Regions from separate parts of the Homo sapiens genome. Here all the other regions are linked to region 1. Evidence: promoter capture Hi-C in 16 types of primary human blood cells and fetal thymus (Javierre and others, 2016). All regions are on one chromosome and are shown on one strand. The core of a region is centred on a gene start or on the middle of the fragment in contact, and the rest is flanking DNA. Distances in the headings are between cores, read along the strand shown. Region 1 holds the start of PRELID3B (PRELI domain containing 3B). Region 2 has its middle 120 kb from the start of EDN3. Region 3 has its middle 94 kb from the start of EDN3. Region 4 has its middle 150 kb from the start of PHACTR3. Region 5 overlaps NPEPL1 (aminopeptidase like 1). Region 6 overlaps STX16 (syntaxin 16).

Region 1 (3,127 bases), core at 317-2,816:
TGAAATGGACTAGTGATGAATGCGACCAGGTTAATGAACATCTAAATGACCACAAATTTCGGGTCTTTTTCCTCCCAAAAAGACTAAACAGTAGGGGGAAAAGAAAGCTTCCTTCTGATTCCAGTATTCTATACTTTGCAGGATACAGCAGGCCCTAGGATGTGTCCCACTGAGTACAAATGCGGACAACGTTTTAAAAGTTGCCTTCAGAGGCCGGGCACAGTGGCCCACACCTGTAATCCCGGCACTTTGGGAGGCCAAGGCGGGCGAATCACCTGAGGTCAGGTGCGACCTGACCAGGGCGAATCACTTTGAGACCAACCTGACCAACATGGTGAAACTCCGTCTCTACTAAAAATACAAAAATTAGCCGGGCGCGGTGGTGGGCGCCTGTAATCCCAGCTACTTGGGAGGCCAAGGCAGGAGAATCGTTTGAACACGGGAGACGGAGGTTGCAGTGAGCCAAGAACACGCCACTACTCTCCAGCCTGGGCAACAGAGCGAGACTCTGCCTCAAAAAAGAAATTTAAAAAAAATTTGCCTTCAGAGACAGTTTTAAAAACATAAATGGCTTTGTAGCATATTTATTTACAAGGCTATACTAATTAAAACAGTGTGGCAACGACATTAAGATCAGCGGAACAGAGCAGGTAACTCGGGAAAAAAAAGGATTTCGCTGCTTAAATTTGTGGCTCTTTTGTAAATGGAATCAGGGACCTAGAAGAGAATATAATTCTCCACATCCAACTGGTTCAAGGCTTAGTTTCGTTAGTAAACAGTTCACATTATCCAAAAAGATGTTCCTGAACGTGGCCTCAAAGAGCTAACACGGGTAGGCCCTGACGATCGTCCTTTTCCATCTCTCAGATGAAAATGGGTAACCCAGGGTCACACGCTTGTTACAGCCAGAGCTAGACCTTGAATTCCAAATCCAAGGCTCTGCTGCGTAGATGAACGAGTTGTGAAAAGGCTTCACATCCTGGTGGTCAGAGTTCACCCGAAATTCACATTCGAAGGTAGAAACTCCACCCAAACGGCGGCCAGGGAAAGTACACTCTGGAGAAAACCAACACCTCCCTCTTGGGATCCTCGGGTCCACGTCCCAAAGTGGTTTCACAGGGCGGGATGGGGCAACCCTGAGTGCTGTCAAGGGCTTCGTGCTCCGCGACGCCCCCAGGACCTCAGGAGGCCGCCGGCCCGAGGCTACCTCATGGTGGGGGACAGCCCGGAAGTGACCCCGTAGCCCTGCCGGTCGCAAGGCCGCCTGGGTCTGGAGGTCGGAGCCGTCCCCTCGGCTAGGGCGCCTCGGGGTCGTGACCTTGGTCTGCCCTCCGTGTCGCCGGGGCCCGCAGGCTTCAGAGTTCGCTCCCCTCGCTAGGCCCGACGCCTAGAAGCCTCCTGCGGGCCGCCTCTGCCTCGCCTCTACTCCAGGGCCGGCGTGCCTGCCCTCCACGGAGCCGACCCGCGCCCCAAACTTACTCAAAGACGTGCTCCGAAGTCCAGATCTTCATGGTGCCGGCACCCTGAGAGATGTCCGGGTAGCGCCAGGGGACAACGAGGCACAGAGGCTACACCTGCCCCTGCCCCGCCCCCAGCACCCCAGCCGGCGGCGCAGTGCGCAGGCGCTGTCGGGCCCGACGCGAGGGACGTCCAGACGCGCGGCCCCACGCCCTATCCCGGCCCGGGTTTTGCCCCAGCCTTGCGCGCGGCGCAAGGAAACCCCGCCTCTTAGCGCCGGGCGCATCGCGCCGGCGCAGTGCCGCCGACGGCAGCTGGAGGGGCCGGCGCGGGCGCTGTGCTGCGCAGGCGCGGCGGGCTTGTAGCGAGCCTTGACCTCTGGGCAGAGTTGGGTCAGGTCCAGGAGGTGCCTGCGCGCCCGCTTGGCCCTCCTTGTCCTTCTGGCCCAGCACATCCTCGCCTGGCATTTCGAGGCGTGTGGACGCATGCGGTCAGCCTGCTGACATAGATGTTCGTTGTGGTGGTCACTTGTGCAAAATTTCCTGGTGCCCTATAGAGAGTTCCAGCCACCTCCTGGGTCAGCCCGGGCTGTTTTCCCAAATCCACCAGCCACCCAGCCGATCAGCTGGGCCAGTCCCACCTGCCCGCCAGGAGCTTGCAGCCCTCGGAGGGGATAAATAAGGCGTGACGCGGAGAAGCTAACATCAGACCTGCCCATGAATAATACCCCTACGAGGGATGCGGTCCGGAAGCACGGTGCCAGGGGTCGGGTAGAAAAGCTTCCTGGCCGGGCACACCTTGCCCTAGGTGCATAGGATGGATCTGAGCTGAGATGTCTCTCCCAGAGAGACTTCCCTCGTCACCGTTTCTCACCTTGTTGCTCTGCTCCGTCACAATATCCTGTTGCATTTTTTATAGCACTTACCCCTCTGACATCATCTTGTTAATTTATTTGTGAAAATTCACAATCGAACTGAGTTCTTGAAGGCAAGAATCTTGCCGGTCTTGCTCAAAAATCATCCTCAGTGTCTCCCATATAGTCAAGGCTCAATGACTACTTATTGAAAAATGAAAAAAATCAATAGCTATTTGTGGGATGAATGAATTAATGGAGTCATCTAGTTTATTTGTTGTAACTTCCGCTAGACTGTAAGCCCCTGAGGGCGAGGCTCTTGCCAGACTTGTTCAGTGATTTCCCCCTTCCTAAATGACAATTATTTGTTGCATCAATGGATGAAAGAATGACTAAGAATTGCTGGGGCAGGAGGAGGTGGCATGTGGTTTCATTCAGAGATGAGCCTTGTCCAGGGAACAGACTGCCTGGCTTAGCTTTCAGAATATGGCTTCCCACCCTGCTCTCCTGCACTCTCCACAGCCGTCTACCTCCTAACAGAACAATTTGCCATTTTCAATGAAGGTTATGGAGGAAAATCTTTACATCTAGTTACTTAGAAGCTTGTTAGAAGGACCACCTCATTCTTGTTCTTAGCTTGTTTGATTGTTAAAGACAAAAAGCCAGGTTAATTTAGGAGGGAGGATAATTTTTCAAAATAACATAAGTCCTTTATACAGGAAAACAAAAATTACATTAGACAGGAAGGAAATAATATGGTTGGGTAGTTGCTAAGTGCAATTTGTGGTACCTGAGATTTTCTTTTTTTAAACCTAC
Region 2 (3,254 bases), core at 605-3,104, 370 kb after region 1:
GAATTGCAAAGATGCTTAACGTAGCTTTCTAAGCCACTGGCGCCAGTGTACAAATTGTCCTCTGGGTGAGGAGCACGGAGATTCGGCTACTCCATGGGTCTAGAATGTTAGGTTTGATGATGGCCAATTGCACTTCATCCAACAAATACTGCAGTGGGACTTATTGCCAATCCCCAAGGTTCAGGGAGTAGGGGGTCAGGGCCGGAATGTGAAAGTGACCAGACCTAGGCATTATCGGAGCTCACTATCTGTGGAGAGAGGTGGTCACCTAAATGGTGTGTGATACGTCATGCTTGGTGCCAGAGCTTCGGGCTGGGAGGGCAGGGGCATCTGTGAGGGCCATAGGAGAGAAGCAGAGCTGGGCACCCCAGGGAGAGGCGCGGGTGGGCACATGCGGCCCCACCATGAAGAGCCCCGTGTGCCTGGCAAGTAGTTGGCAAGGCCTGTGCTTGGTGGGTTCTGAGCAGGCTCCTACTGTTCTAGACCAAAGCAGGAAAGTTGAAGGCCCACTAGGAGGTAAAATACAATGCCTGATAGGAGAGGGTGGTGCCTGAACTGGAGAAGTCACAGGATGGAGAGAGCAGGTGGAGATGGATTCAGAGGGTTGGGGAATGATTGCATTCTGCAGAGCCAGTGAGGCCCATGGCTGGGATGTTGGGGTGATGGTGATCCAGACAAGAGCTACTCACAGGGAAGTGGAAGGGACAGCGATGAATCTTGCTTCAAAGCACATTCCCTAGGATTGGGTTTTTTAGAGCAGTTTTACATTTAGGGAAAAATTGAACAGAAAGCACAGAGAGTTCCCACACATGCCCCATACCCCTCCCCCAATAATCCTATTTTCATTAACATCTTGCCTTAGCATGCTACACTTGTTACAGTTGATGAACCAATATTGATGCATTATTATCAGTTAAAGTTCATAAGAGGGTTGACTCTTGGTGGTGTACATTCTATGGGTTTTGACAAATGTATAATGTCACGTGCCCTCAATTACAGGATCATACAGAGTCATTTCACTGCCCTAAACATCTCCTGAGCTCCACCTGTTCGTCCCTCCCTCCCCCTTGAACTCCTAACAACCACCGATCTTTTGACGTCTCTATAGTTTTGAATTTTCCAGAATGTCATCTAGTTGGACTCACACAGCATGTGGACTTTTCAAACTGGCTTCTTTTACTTAGCAAGAGGTGTTTTTTTTTTGTTTTTTTTTTTTTATGGAGTCTCACTCTGTCACCCAGGCTGGAGTGCAGTGGCACGATCTTGGCTCACTGCAACCTCCACCTCCCAGCTTCAAACAATTTCCCTGCCTCAGCTTCCTGAGTAGCTGGGATTACAGATGCATGCCACCATGCCCTGCTAATTTTTGTATTTTTAGTAGAGACGGGGTTTCACCCTGTTGGCCAGGTTGGTCTCAAGCTCCCAACCTCAGATGATCCACCTGTCTCAGCCTCCCAAAGTGCTGGGATTACAGGTGTGAGTCACTGCGCCAGGCCAGCAAGATGCTTTTACGGTTCCGTGTATGTCTTTCTGTGGATTGCTGTGTCTTTGAATTTTCAAGGTGCTGTGTTAGTATGATGGTTGTGAAGCCTGAGATGAGAAGAAGCCATGAGACACCAGATAAAGCCATCAGAGGAGCAATGTTTTGCCAACCAATGGCTCAGAGCCCACCCTGTCCCCACCCTGCCACTAGGAACCCTTGCCCAGTTCTAGAGGAGGCAAAATCATGGATGTGTCACTGGCTAATGTCCTTGTCCAAGAGTGACACAAAGGCAGGTAGAGTTTCCCGGAAGACCATGTTACCTGCCTTCATGGGCAGAATAAATTTCTCCTTTACCTATCTAGAGAGTCTTACCCAGGCAGCTCAGAGACCCCTGTGCTCAGGCTGCTCCTGGTGGGGTGAGGGGTAGATGGCAAACACCCAGCCGAGGGTCCTGTCTCCCCTCCCCGTGAGACCCCAGGGCCCCACCATCTGGGGCACGCTGGCTGCTTTCCCTGCCCAGCATGTCCAGCGGGCTGCCTTGATGAGCTCACCCTGGAACATACAGAGCCTCTTCACATGTTTTTCTTTTTCTCTTCTTATTAAAACAATAATAGCTTGACTACAAAACTATTAATCTGGCAGTAAATTATGGGAAATTTATTGCTATGGTTGTTTTTCAAAAATTGGCCATATTATCCCAGAGGAGGTACAATTAAACATTGAAGAATAAAAGTCACAAATGATTTGGACGGCGCCTCTTGTCTGAAGGTTTCAGAGACCGCCTATCCTTTTTCCATCAAATGCTCTGCAGATGGCCTCAGATGCTGAGACGTGGCAGAACTCAGTCCAAGGATAACCATGAAGTTGTCCATGGAATGATTGCGCCTCATTCCTTGCTGTTCCCTGTTGCTCTTGCAGCCTCCTGTTTGTGTTTCAGAGCATGCTTATTGTGTGGTAGGAACTAGGAGCCAACAGGGTTCCTAAAGGTAGCTTGATCTTGACCAGCGGGCTTCCAGTACAGTCAAGATATTGCCAGAACCGCCAGGAATTGGGTAACTGATGAGAGAAGAGAAGAAAATCTTGTAAATAGAAATGCCGAAGATGGTGAGAAAATGAGAGAAAGAATGACAGTGTAGGTTAAAGAGGGTCCCAATGACAGAATCCTCCCAAAATATGTTCAAAGAGGGAAAAGTACACTTGGATTCTGGAGAAGAGGGTTCTTTACTGTGCCTGGGGTCGTGGTAGTCATAGCAATCTGGGACAGGGTGTCTACATATTTGGGGCCCTGGGATCGTGCAGAATCATGGAGAGTATAATCCCAAATAAAGGCGCTGGACAACACCACTTGTAGATTTCAGGGAAGGAGAGAGATGGCAGCCACTGGTGTGGTCCAGTGCAAAGAGTGGCTGAAGGTCTTAGGTAGGGGAGATGCTCCCCAAAAGAGCAGGCACTGGGGAGGAGTGTCCTGTGGTTGTAGCCAAGGTGAAGTGGAGACAAGTTTGAGTAGATGCTGGGGGTCTTGAAAGCCACCCAGAGAATGTCATTTGTTCATTCCTTCCACCCACATCCACTGGGCACCCACTATATGCCAAGCACTGTGCAGGGCAGAGAGCAAACCCTGCCTTGGGCCATTCAGGCTTTGTTCTGTAGGCAGAGCCATGGAGAGCTGATGAGTGACGGAGGGCCAAGGTGACTCTGGGTTCTAGAGAGACGCTCCAGGCACACTTCTTCCCTTCACCCGGTCATGTTTCCTGACCTCACATCTGGTGTT
Region 3 (3,247 bases), core at 464-2,963, 350 kb after region 1:
ACAAGGTGGGGTGATGTGCATGTCTCTCTTCAGGACAGCCCAGAACAGCCAAGTCCGTTCTGCCTCTAACTCTCCTTCCCCTTTTGCTTTGTCCTGTGACTTGCTGGGACCAACCTGAAATGCCCCCTCTTCCCAAACCAACATTTATCCATCCATCCATCTAGTCATCCATCCGTCTAGTCATCCATCCGTCATCCTTCATCCATCCATTCATCCTTTCTTCCATCCATCCATCCATCCATCCTTCCATCCATCCATCGTTCCACCCACCCAATCATTCATCCATTTATCACCCATCCATCCATCCATCTGTCATCCATCTAATCATCTATCCTTCATCTACTCATCTGTCCACCCATCTCTCCAATCATCCATTCACCTAATTGTCCATACATCCTTCCACCCATTCATTCAGTCATCCATTTATCCATCCAATAATTAATCTAATTATCACAATTCATCCATCCATCCATCCATCCATCCATCCATGTTACCATCAATGTACCATACCCCAGGTGCATGTTTCCCATTTAAGTGTCCTTGGGGGCATAGTGACTACTGCAAAACTCCAAAGAGAGCTGTCAGCCATGGGCTCAGCCAGGGATCCTGGGGAGTGCCAGGAAAATTCCCCTGGGAAACACCAATTGTTGTCCCATCCCTAGCCCTACAAGTATTCTGGGGGAGGCTGAGAATGAGTAGATTCCTTTTCTCTATGTGGAGAGGAAGAATGCAGGCAGGAGAATGGCATAGAAGAAATGAAAGGCATTTTAAAGAATTTTGGGGCCATAATCCAAGGAAGTAAAACTGGTGTGGAGCCTGCTTCTCATCATTTTCCAGTGGAGGGGAGCACGAAGCATGGTTGGATTTCGCAGATATTGGATGGGACATACTTGTATTAAAAAGTATGTTGTTTATTTGAAATTCAAATTTATTTCTCTTCTTTTATTCTTTCTTTAGCATGATCTGACAACCATAAGCTTGCAGACCCACCTGGGTTCTGCCTCTTGTGAACAGGTAACCTTCGGTGAGTCACTCTGACACTTGGTGAGCCTCTCTGACACTCACCTTTCTCACCTATAAAATGGGGATAACAATAAATACCTCGGGGAGTGTAACCAAAATTGCCCACCACTGGGACCACATAGGTGGTGGATTGTGTAGAACAGAAACATGAAGGGCTCACCAGGAATTCCAGGTCTGTAGACTGCAGGACAGAGGCCTCAGCCAGAAGTGCTCAGAATCCAAGTTCGACAATGCTCCGCCAGTCACAGGAAACATCTGTGGGGCAACTGTGGTCCCTAGGCTGCTATTTTGTAAGCTCCCATTTTTCTAGGGCTGTCCAAAGGATGACATAGGATAACATGGTGATATATGAACCCCAAAGGTTCGGCGCACCGAGCCGGCATTGCACAAATGGCAGCTCCAGGGCTCTCGGGGCAGAGATCAACTCTATTGTTTTCAGCCCCTTCTCTTGCTCCCAATGCTCCCCCCTGCTCTCTCTCTTTTCAGGACCTCCCCTCTCCCCTACCTCATCTGTTGCAGCAACTCCTGCATCTACAGATGTCCACTGACTGCTTCCAAACCCTACAGCTCTTCACATATGGGAGAAAAAGACTTGGCAGTTTCTTAAGGGATACTCACAAAAGACCATGTTGAGACTTGGGTTTTGGAATGAGACAAACTTGAACATGGACTTGACCACTAACTCTTTCAGCAACTCATTCTGTGCCAGTGGGCAGCTCATTCAGCACCTTCGCATGCAGTGCCTGTGAAATAAGTACTGAAATGAGGTGAAATAAATACTGAAATGAAATAAGTGTGAAATAAGGTCTGGAGCTCCGAGAGCTGTGGCCAGTGCTCCATAAATGCCAACAGTGACCAGCAGGACCAGCAGTACTACATGATTCTCAGAGCCACAAGGGCCCTCAGAGCGGACTTCCTCTAGCACAGTACTCATTGGAGGAGAGCTGGCTTGATTTGCAGCTTTCTCTAGCTCTTAGCTTCTGGGAAACAAGAGGTCAGAACAGGGTGACTGCTTGCTCACCCTGTGTGTAAGAAATTTTACAAGAATGGGAACTCCATTGCAGACTTGTTGCTTGTTTCAAAACATTCATCCATCTACGGTTTTTCAGGATGCTGACTTTAATCCACTATAAATGTGTCAGTCAAAATCCTTTTAGTTGCAGGTGATAAAATTACCAGCTCTGAGTAACTAAAAGATGGGGGTTGACTAATTGTGTACAACAAGCAGCCTGGAGAAGGGGAGTAACCCGGGGCTCCTGTGTTTTGCATGTTTCTGCCTTGCCATCTTCACAGTCACAAGAAGGTTGCCATAGCTCCAGGCATCATGTGCTTACACCATAGTATCCTACACAAGAAAGAAGGAGGTACAAGCCAAAGATCTTTCTCTTTATAAATCTCTCTTTATTCTTGGGGATAAGCTCTTCCAGAAGCTTCCTAGCAGATTTTCTTCTGCAGTTCAGTGTTGGGAAGTAGGTCACACACCCATCCCTACACCAAAAACAAAGAAAAATAAGATGGCAGTGGCTTAGACCGATTTGCACTTTCTGTGATTGCTGCACAAAATCAGTGTTCTAGTCACAGGAACAATGGAGGAATGACTACTGAGTGGACGGTCAGTATTTCTGCCATTTGTAATAATAATGCAGATAAAAGTAGCTTCCATTTGCGGAGGACTTACTATGAGCAAGTCATCCGGTTAAAGGCTTGACTGAATGACATTAGTTTCTCACGATAGCCCCATTTTGATCATACAAGAACCCACTGTTCTTGTTCCCATTTTCAAGGGAGGCAAGTGCATTCTGTGGGGCACCTGGTGCTGGCTGTCCCTGAAGCTGTCCCTGGTGCTGGCTGTCCCTGAAGTTATCCCTGATGCGTGTCCCATCAGTCAGCCGAGGGTGGAACAAAAACTATGAAGCCACCAATGACCCCACGCTCCCCCTCCACTTCCCAGATTCCATGCATCCTTGCTCAGGTCTGGCAGGAGAAGCCAAGAATAGACCCTGCCTTGCTGGTGCCCAGCAGCAGCTGCAGGAGGAGGCATGGGTCTGCCCTCTAACTCAATTGCATGTTTCGACCATGTTGCAACATTCCAGGCCAAAGGCAGTGATTTCTAATCAACAGGATTGTGTCCTTGGTCCAGGCCTTTCTGGAGCACTTAAAGTGACTGGTGACAACTGTTTCTGTGGGTCCTCTTTCAGTCTTCATTCATGTGGGACATTTTGAC
Region 4 (2,946 bases), core at 278-2,777, 410 kb after region 1:
TATGGGACGCAGAGAGGCCCTGCTGTGTTGAGGTCCCAGCTGCCATTTTGCCTGCCTTCTTGGGCTCCAGGATGTTGGCCTCAGGCTCCCCGCTGACCAACCCTGTTTGGGGTTAAGTGAACACCGCTGGACAGACGTCAAGTCATGAGAAAAACTCCATCCTGAGAGTCATCTTAAGCTTCTTGGGATTTCAGTATGCCCAATTGATTCCAGCTGGTGTCAAATCAGCATATTTTGCCTAATTACATTCATTTTTGCAGGTGGTCGCCATCGGTTTCATTTACAAGAACTCAGAGTAGCCCCAAGAAATGAACTAGATAGCTGGCAGAGCAGTCCACAGTGGGGAAAAAGTCTGTTTTTGTGAACACTGAATTGACATATGCTTTTCCATAAACCCAGGCTTGCAAGGAGTCGTGCTCATGGCCTCCTTGTCTACTTTCCATCCCTCAGTCTCTCTCTCTTTTTAAGGCATAAATGTGAAAAGAAAACAAATCTCTCCTCTCCTATCTTCCCCGGCCCGACTCAGGGATTTGAACGCTGCTCATTGCTGGCCCAGCTGAACCAGGGGGCCCAGACCTTAGCCTCCTTTGGAAGACTGCCATGTAAATCAGTGGCCTACACCAAGTTTTCTCAGTAATGTGAGTCCTTCCTTTCCCTAAAAATGGGAAATGGGGCCTCCACAGGTCATCAAAAATGTGGCTTAAGCCTGGTGTGGTGGCTCATGTCTGTAATCCCAGCACTTTGGGAGGCTGAGTGGGTGGATCACCTGAGGTCAGGAGTTCGAGACCAGCCTGGCCAACATGGTAAAACCCCATCTCTACTAAAAATACAAAATTAGTTGGGCATGGTGGCACATGTCTGCAATCCCAGCTACTTGGGAGGCTGAGGCAGGAGAATCGGTTGAACCTGGGAGATGGAGGTTGCAGTGAGCTGAGATGGCACCACTGCACTCCAGCCTGGGCGACAGAGTGAGACTCCGTCTCAAAAAAAAAAAAAGAAAAAAGAAAAAAAAAGAAAAAGAAAAAATGTGGCATAAAAACAGAACATCTGGCCAGAGATCATTGTTTAATGGAATCCTCTCCAAGGGTTCTCTCTCTTGCAGACCCGTCCAGGGCATTTCAGAGAGAAGAGCCTCGAAGCCCAGCCCGGAGAGGCAGACCAGAAACAACTGAAAGCAGGCCGGGGAAGATAGGAGAGGAGAGATGTGTTTTCTTTTCGTATTTAGGCCTTAAGATCCAGCCCATGTCAGCCTATCTCCTCCCCAATTGCGGGAGTCAGACACATGTCCCCCGGAACAGAACAAGGTGTGCAGCTGGGGAGGAGACGTGCCACTGTCTAGCTTGGGGCCCACCTGCCATGTAGCTCCCAAATAACATAGTGAAGTGGTTAAAGGGCACTTGTTCTGGAGCCAAGTGGACCCAGGTCCAAATGACAGCTTTCTGACTGACTTTCACTCACTTACCTGGGACCTTAGGCAAGTGACTGGTAGCACTGAGGTCCTGCAACATGTGGGCAACCCTATCTCCCCCGGGGGTGACTGTGAGATCAGAGGAAATGTGTGCAAAGCACTAGCACAGGGTGAGGCTTTGGCACACAGTGCACTGGGCTGGCTGTGATACATGGTAGCTGGCACAAGGTCAGGTCTCAGACTGCTGCAAGTATTACAGGGCAGTGAGACATTGTAGCCATTGCAGTTATCATCAATATTCCCTAGCTCTGATAATTCTCTCTCCTCACCCCAACCTGTGGGAGTATAGAAAATGGGTACTAGCAGGAAAAAAAGCCCAGGGTTTGGCAGGATTCAGGCCATTTCAGGGCTGTTTATGGACAGAAACTTCTCAGTCTTTGGATCACGGCAAGGAAATTTTTTTCCAAATCCTTGGGTAGCTCATTTGTGAGGCAACAGCACCCTCTCTGGTCGGAAAGCAGCATTTTCTCTAGAATTTTCTCTGGGGGCTTCAGGGCACCTACACCCAAAAAGTGAACAGGTGTGTAAATGAGTGTGGTGTGGTCTTTATCCAAGGAGGTCAGGGCAACCTCAGCATCTCCCCCTTATCTGTGGGCGACTGCATCCATTTCTTCCCCCTCATTCTTCCCAGCTTTCATTGCTTCTGAACTGCTGACAGTGGGGACAGTGGGGACAGTGGGGAGGGAAGTATCTGTGTCTGAGGAGCCCGCAGTACCCCCTCTCAGGCTTAGCCACACTGGCTGCCTGCTCCAGTTCCACCCTCGGGGCCAGCACTTACTCGGCATATCCGAGTTTTGGTTTGTCCTGGCCTTTTACAGTCCTGGGAACTGTGACTGGACCTCCACTCACACTGACCTCTCCCCAGCACCCTTCTCCACCACCACTACAGAAACTTGCATGCTATTTGGTTTGGAAAATTCCAGAAGGCCCGACTCTCCTGTGGGTCTGTGTCACCCCTGACCAAGTCCCAGCTCTGAGGTCTCAGGCAGGCCAAGCTGCCTCTCTGAGCTCCTAGAGCCTCAGCCCCGGAGGGGCAGTGGTGGGGCATTCACAAAGTAATCTGTGGTCATACCTGGCTCCAGCAAGCCCACAGGCTGTGCCTGCCATGCCGACACGCCCCTTCACACTGCCAGCAAGTGGCTGCGTGGTCCTGTCTCGGGGGCTTCCCCCACCTGTGGTCCGGGTGTTGTCCCATTCAGCCTTGTGACATCTCTGCGAGCTCCCCTTCTCGTTGCCAACCTACCCTGAGAGATGCAGCTCAGAGAGAGGAGCGGGCCCAGCCTGCTGGGGGTGTCCCTCCAGTCTAGAGCGAGACTCTCACCCAGGCCCCCCATGGCCCAACAGAACCCTGGGGGCTTCCAGGCCCCACACCCGCTGCTCCTCACGACCCCTTTTCTCTGTCTCCATGGAAGCTTGGAGATACAAGTTGGAGAGAACAAAAGCTCGGGGGCCCTTCCCGGCCACTCCCAGCCCGGCTC
Region 5 (3,081 bases), core at 376-2,875, 350 kb before region 1:
GACAACGGGCCGGTGGAGGTGTCCACATTGCAGGTGGGTGTCTGGAAGGGCAGACACTGCCCCTGGGCCCGGGCAAGATCGGGCAGGTGGGAGGGAGGTCGGGAGAGGGAAAAGCTTGTTGCGGGGGCAGGAGGGGGTTCCTGCCCTTCCCAGGAGCTTTGGTTCCTGGGAAGCGGCAGAGGCTTTTCCAAACCCAGGCCCCCTGCCTCTGCCTCAGCGTGGTCTGTGACTTCAGGATTCTGTTGTATACAGGCAGTGTTTGTTGAGCACGTAATCAGTGCCAGGAACGTCCATGCTGTTTTCCAAATAACCCTGCCCGTTTATGTGAGCTCCGTGTGCACGTGTGTGATGTATGCACGTGTGTGTGTATGTGCGTGCACATGTGTGTTGCTGTGCGTGTATGAGTGTATGTGCATGTGTTGTATGTGTGGGGGGTGTGTGTGTGCATGTGTGATGTGTGTGTGTGTGTGGTATGTGTTGCTGTGTATGTTTGCTGGTGTGTGCATGAGTGGTGTGTGTGGTGTACGTGTGGTATGTGTTGCTGTGTGTGTGTGTTTGCTGGTGTGTGCATGAGTGGTGTGTGTGTGTGGTGTGCATGTGTGGTGTGTGCATGTGTGGTGTGTGTTGTTGTGTGTGAGTACTGGTGTGTGCATGAGCAGCATGTGTTGCTGTGTGTATGAGTGCTGGTGTGTGCATGAGTGGTGTGTGTGTGTGTTGTGTGTGTTGCTGTGTGTGTATGAGTGCTAGTGTGTGCATGAGTGGTGTGTGTGTGGTGTGTGTGCATGTGTGTTGCTGCACCCTTTACAGGGAGCACTTCTACATGTGTTATTTCACTCAATGCTGAGAATGATCCTTTTGAGGCTGCAAGGCCGGAAGTGATTTCCCAGCTCCAGATCCTTGGATGGGCCTGACATCAGGCTCCTGTCCCCACGGCAGCGGTCCCAGCCTCTGCGCCTGCCACCTCCAGTCCCCGAGCCCACAGCGCCACCCAGGTTGTCTTTTCTCATGTGTCAGCGCTCATTCTTCACTTCTGGCTCTGGAAGGCTGTCGCCTTCACCCAGGCAAGCTCTCCCACATCAGCACTTGGGCCACACCTCATTTCTTTCACTGTGTGCTCTCTGAGGCCTGTAACCACTGCCCCTCAACCCAAATTCTTCCATCTTCACCAGCATGAGATAGCTCCCCTTTTTTCCCTTCGTCTCTGAGCTTTTAAAAAAGTCTAACTGGTTTGCCTTGCTTAATCCTCTTTTCCCTCTTAACCCATGGAGACAGAGTTTTTGCCCCCATCCTGACATTGTTTTCTAAGGACTGCTGGATGGGGTGTTGCCGTCCCTCCTTGAAGTGCATCTGCCCCATCCAGAGGTCTCCCTCCCTCCCGCTGCTCCCCAGACTGCTGCCACCTCTCGGCATCCCCTTCATGGCCTCTCCAGCGTTCCGACCTGCTCAGCCCTCTCCGGGTCAGACACCAGCATCTGCCTCTTCTCTCTGTCTTTAGGGATTTTCTTCTGACTTCCAGGCCTGCCATCCAGGTGGGCACGGGTGCCCGCAGAGCCCACCGGGGGCTCAAGCATCACCCTTATTTCCGAGGACAGCAGGGCACCCTGACCTCTGCTGCCCTCAGTCCCTTCCCCTCCTGTGGACTTCCTGCTGTCCCTTAGACTGGCCACGCCCACTCCTGCTCTTGCTCCTCTGCAGGGGTCCTTCCCTCTCCAGCCCAGCATGGTCTCCATCCAGCCTCTGCCCACATTCCCTCCCCAGGGAGGCCTGGCCCTCTTGGCTAGCACCACCCTCCCATTTGTCAGCTAAACCATCACTACTAGACATGTCACATCTTTGTTGATCTCCTGTGCTCCTCACTGGGTTGGGAGTCCCCAGAGGGCAGGGACCTGGTCTTGTGCACAGTGATCCCAGCACCCGACCCCACACATGAAAAAGGCCCAGTAAACATCTGGTGATGGAACCAGTGGGGGCAGTCAGTCCCCATGGCCCCCGACCCCATTGGTCCCAACTAGCTAGTGTGTCCTGTTTCTTGTCTTTGCTCTGCCCAGTGCCGTGCCTTGAGGTGCTCTCCTGGGCTGTGGCAGCAGTCTCCTGGTCACCCTGCCACAGATGGCCTCCTTCCAGCTCCTGCGTCACTCGCCTTCCAAAGGCACATCTGGGTGTGTGCAAGGTGGCATCTTCTGAGTGCTGTCAGCTGTCAGGCCCTGCGCTGAGGCAGGAGTGTGCACACAGCACGTGCTGGTGCACTGAATTCTCACTACAGCCCTGTGAGATACATCCTGTTGTCCCCACGACATTGAGTGGCTCACCGGGGCCACGGCAGCAAGGGGCAGAGCCAGGTGTTAAGCTGCAGCTGCCACCACTCAGCCCTCTTGGGTCCTGAGCACACCATCATCTGACACCCACGTGGCCTGTACTCAGCTTCTCCCTTTTCTTCCCTGCGGGAACCTTCCAGTCCCCACCCAGGACCCTGTCCCCTCTGCATCCTGTGGCCTCATCCTCTTCTGTAGCAGGGACTGGGACTGTGTACTGTGAGTCTCTGCTGAGCTTGACTCCCTTGGACGTCTCTGAATTCTCAGAGTCTTGCACGATGCCTGGCACATGTGGACAGAATGAGTGGTCCTCCTCTCATGGTAAGGGACACCCTTCCCCAGTGCAGCATGGCTGTGTGTTGGTGGAGGGCACCCGCAGCCCTGCCCTCCCTCCCACAGGAGCGCTCTTGCGTCAGAGCCCCGAGCTCGCCGTGGTCTGGGGTCTTCCAGGTGACACCTGGCCTCCTTGGAGGCAAGTCACACAGCATTGACGCACTTCTCAGACAGTCCTTGTCGAGTCCCCACATGCCCTCACAGACAGAGAACCCGCTGACAGGCGGCAGGGACGGCTCAGGCACATTCATATCAGAGCTGTCAAGGTCCAGGTTTCTACCTTTGAGGCTTTGGGGTTTAATTACCTCGGCAGGGCGGGGGAGGTGGCCAGGCTGCAGTATCGACCCGGCGCCTGCTGCCCTGACATTATGAGACTAGAGGCAGGGATGATAAACTTGCTGCTGTCCTGCACCCCCGCAAAACAGCGCTGCTCTTC
Region 6 (2,790 bases), core at 193-2,692, 370 kb before region 1:
ATCGCCCCATTTAATAGCAGTATTGGGTTTACAAAAAGTCAGCCCTTGCACTAGTCTAACCAGAAGCCCTGAGCTGTCTTTTCAGGGGGCTTGTTGCCATGTGTAGGTGGATATGAGACTCCAGCCTGTGGTGGGAAGAGAAGTCTGACCTTGTCTATGCAGGGTTTTTTTAAGCATTTAGATTAATTTGGTTGCCAAGCCCTGTCTATTAAAAGTGAAAACTAACTTAAGTTTCTCACTCTGTAATACCCAGGTTTTGATGTGCTGCTGAATTATGCATTGGTTTTGAAGTTTCTTAAATAAAAACTAGTGAAATATGTTTTGTAATATAACACAGATAAAAGGAAAAGCTTTCTCTGCGGGAGTGAGCAAATCTAGTGGGAACTAAAAATTTTGTTTTAGGTTCTACTTTATAAATCATTTTGAGAGGTTTTACAGTATATTATTTAGTATTGGCTTCCCTGGTGTTCTGGGTTACTTATTAGAAAAGTCAGCGTGCTCCATCTTCCCTCCAGCCACAAGGCTGTAGGCAGCACGCGCGTGCTCGGCAGTCGGCTAGTCTAAGGGTGATTGAGCGTCGGGAGCTGCTCCCCATGACCGGACTCTCGGTGCTGTCCCCGTGCCTGATGTTTCCTCCTGGTGGATGAGGGGCTCCTCCAGGTGGGCGGGCAGGCTCACTTAGGAAACAAGCCCACCGCGGGGGATGGAGCAGGAGAGATTGCCATTCTCGCCAGGGCTGCCTTCCCGCTGTCTCCTCCTCCCTCCTGTGCCATAGCAAGGTCTGGAAGAGGCAGCGCATGCTCTCCCTGGACGTGCCTCCCGGCGCCCTCTGAACTCTGCTGTCCTCTGGCTCTCCTTTCTCAGTGCTCTGCGTCTTTCGCCAGCCAGGTGGGGCCCTTTGGCATTTCTCTAGCAGGCATGATGGAGTTCCCGCTCCTGCCGAGCTTCCAGGATGCGGTGTTAAGGTGAAGAGATGTGCAGGGTGCAGCCTCGTCCCCAGATTGAGCTTGGAGGGCTCCTTTGCTGTATCGTTAGCGGCACTGGGAGGACGCGCCTCAGAGGGATCTTTCTGCATATGACATCCATGGGGCACACGTGTCTGTTTTTATTTCAAAGGATGAGTTTTTGTTTCCAAATTTAGGGGAGGTCGAAATGGGGCCTCTTCCGGGTGTCTGTTGCCTACCTGCCAGGTACGGTCCTCCAGCCCGTTGTTTCCTTCCGCGGTGAAGGAACTGTGCATTCGCTCCAGGAACACGGACCGGGAACAGGCGACCCGTGCTGCAGGGGCACTTGCCACGGCCTGCAGGAGGAAAAGCCGGGAGAAGCAGGCCCAGCTGCACCCGGAAGCATGAGCTTTCACTTCCCTGTCAGGCTTTGTCTTAGTAGTAGGTTTCCAACAAATCCATTTCCACGTCCAGGGTAAATAAGCAGCACCAGGATCATGGGGCTCTTCCACTCCTGGTGATTGAATTCCGTGGGATTGATTGGAGGGATTACAATCATGTAGCCTGTAGCAGAGACCTCAGTCACTGTGCAGAGAGATCTGGAAGCCTCATTCTGGAAACGAGTGGGACTTGATTTGGGATTTTGGGGAAAATGACGGCCTTTTTTCCCTCCTCTTTTTGTAGGCAGAACAGTATCAAAAGAAGAATCGGAAGATGCTTGTGATTTTAATATTATTTGTCATCATCATTGTGCTCATTGTTGTCCTCGTTGGCGTGAAGTCTCGATAAGTGGCATTGGGTTTTCGTGTGTGCCGCGCGTGTGGATCTCCCGGGTGTGAGGGGCTTGGCCTGCGCCCCGCCAGCTGCCCGCAGAGGTGCAGCCTCGAGGAATCTGAGGGCGTCGGGGCAGCGAACCTTTGCATCCACGGACTCCTCCTTCCCTAGTCCTGCTCAAGCGGTCCGGGGAATGGGTTTTTGTTTTTCCTTCATTGTTGAGAATTTAAGGACCTTTGATACTGCTGCACAATAGAGATTGAGTTCTGGGATCAGTTATAATATATATTTTTTTTAGAAAGAGAAAATGAGCTGAGAGTTTACAGGCACTGCAGAAGCTGTTCAGTATTATATGTGTATATGCTATTTTTTTAGCAGCCATGTCTGAGCAGAATGTTAACATAATTTTTGGAAAAATTTTCTTTAAACCATCTGGTTTTTAAGAAATTTGGTACCAAAAATTGATGAGTAGAGGCAAAAATGCCCCTTCATCTTTCTCTATATATTTTCCAGTTGAAAACAAACTAAGAAGTCCTTTAAGAATTTATAATCCGTTCCCCATTAACTTAATTTAGCTTTTCCATCACTGTTAATGATCAGAGTAACAAAGTGTGAAAAATAAGAAACCATCATTGATGTTAATTAACACATTTAGATGGGCCAGTTAAAACAGCTTCATAAGTTTTAAATTAATTGTAAATGGAATATTCCTCATTTAAAATTTTTGCACTGCATTTTCTACTGTAAACCAAAAGAGGTTACTAAGCAAAACCACCTAAATTTAAGTTGGTGATTTAAATGAATCTCACATTAAAAGAAAGCTTGACAGTGTTATGAAAGCCACCAGACTCAGCCAGTGTGTCCCCATGGGTATCCCCAGCCATCCTTGCTCAATCCATTACTTATATACTAACTACATAATGACCTGTTCAAACCAGACTCTATTTAATGAACTGTGAATTTACACAGAGGCCATTTTAAATGGGTCACCCCATTTAGGATTAGTGGATCTCAAATTATTAACCAAACATCACTCCATTTCAAAGTAAAATATTCCACCAGCGATTTGATT

What was found. Contacts are between HindIII fragments. The CHiCAGO score rates a contact against its expected background, and 5 or more counts as called.
Region 2: a contact is called between a fragment that was not itself captured here and the fragment with the promoter of PRELID3B in region 1, in 1 of 17 cell types (non-activated CD4 T cells). The highest score is 5.3, in non-activated CD4 T cells.
Region 3: a fragment that was not itself captured here is called in contact with the fragment with the promoter of PRELID3B in region 1 in 1 of 17 cell types (naive CD8 T cells); the score reaches 5.4 in naive CD8 T cells.
Region 4: a contact is called between a fragment that was not itself captured here and the fragment with the promoter of PRELID3B in region 1, in 1 of 17 cell types (endothelial precursors). The highest score is 5.6, in endothelial precursors.
Region 5: a contact is called between a fragment that was not itself captured here and the fragment with the promoter of PRELID3B in region 1, in 1 of 17 cell types (neutrophils). The highest score is 7.6, in neutrophils.
Region 6: a fragment that was not itself captured here is called in contact with the fragment with the promoter of PRELID3B in region 1 in 1 of 17 cell types (neutrophils); the score reaches 6.6 in neutrophils.

The regions. Positions count from the first base shown.
Region 1 is chr20:59,041,220-59,044,346 of GRCh38, forward strand. PRELID3B (PRELI domain containing 3B) reads right to left here and starts at 1,567. Exons shown (of 6, transcript NM_016045.3): 1 at 1,480-1,567. The coding sequence starts at 1,511. It overlaps SLMO2-ATP5E (SLMO2-ATP5E readthrough), which reads right to left and starts at 1,627. Exons shown (of 6, transcript NR_037930.1): 1 at 1,480-1,627. RefSeq lists a silencer at 1,485-1,884. The HindIII fragment of the contact is 2,130 bases long and covers 106-2,235 here.
Region 2 is chr20:59,415,179-59,418,432 of GRCh38, forward strand. No RefSeq gene overlaps it. Among named protein-coding and RNA genes, the nearest start is that of EDN3, 120 kb to the left of the region's middle. The HindIII fragment of the contact is 6,355 bases long and covers 1-3,254 here.
Region 3 is chr20:59,393,076-59,396,322 of GRCh38, forward strand. No RefSeq gene overlaps it. Among named protein-coding and RNA genes, the nearest start is that of EDN3, 94 kb to the left of the region's middle. The HindIII fragment of the contact is 1,476 bases long and covers 976-2,451 here.
Region 4 is chr20:59,454,015-59,456,960 of GRCh38, forward strand. No RefSeq gene overlaps it. Among named protein-coding and RNA genes, the nearest start is that of PHACTR3, 150 kb to the right of the region's middle. The HindIII fragment of the contact is 2,702 bases long and covers 177-2,878 here.
Region 5 is chr20:58,694,560-58,697,640 of GRCh38, forward strand. NPEPL1 (aminopeptidase like 1) reads left to right here. Exons shown (of 12, transcript NM_024663.4): 3 at 1-33. STX16-NPEPL1 (STX16-NPEPL1 readthrough (NMD candidate)) reads left to right here. Exons shown (of 23, transcript NR_037945.1): 13 at 1-33. Among named protein-coding and RNA genes, the nearest start is that of NPEPL1, 3.3 kb to the left of the region's middle. RefSeq lists an enhancer at 1-427. The HindIII fragment of the contact is 3,026 bases long and covers 113-3,081 here.
Region 6 is chr20:58,674,559-58,677,348 of GRCh38, forward strand. STX16 (syntaxin 16) reads left to right here. Exons shown (of 9, transcript NM_001001433.3): 9 at 1,629-2,790. The coding sequence ends at 1,733. All of the region lies in intron 8 of STX16-NPEPL1 (STX16-NPEPL1 readthrough (NMD candidate)), which reads left to right. Among named protein-coding and RNA genes, the nearest start is that of NPEPL1, 17 kb to the right of the region's middle. RefSeq lists enhancers at 1,269-1,794, 1,795-2,319. The HindIII fragment of the contact is 2,189 bases long and covers 349-2,537 here.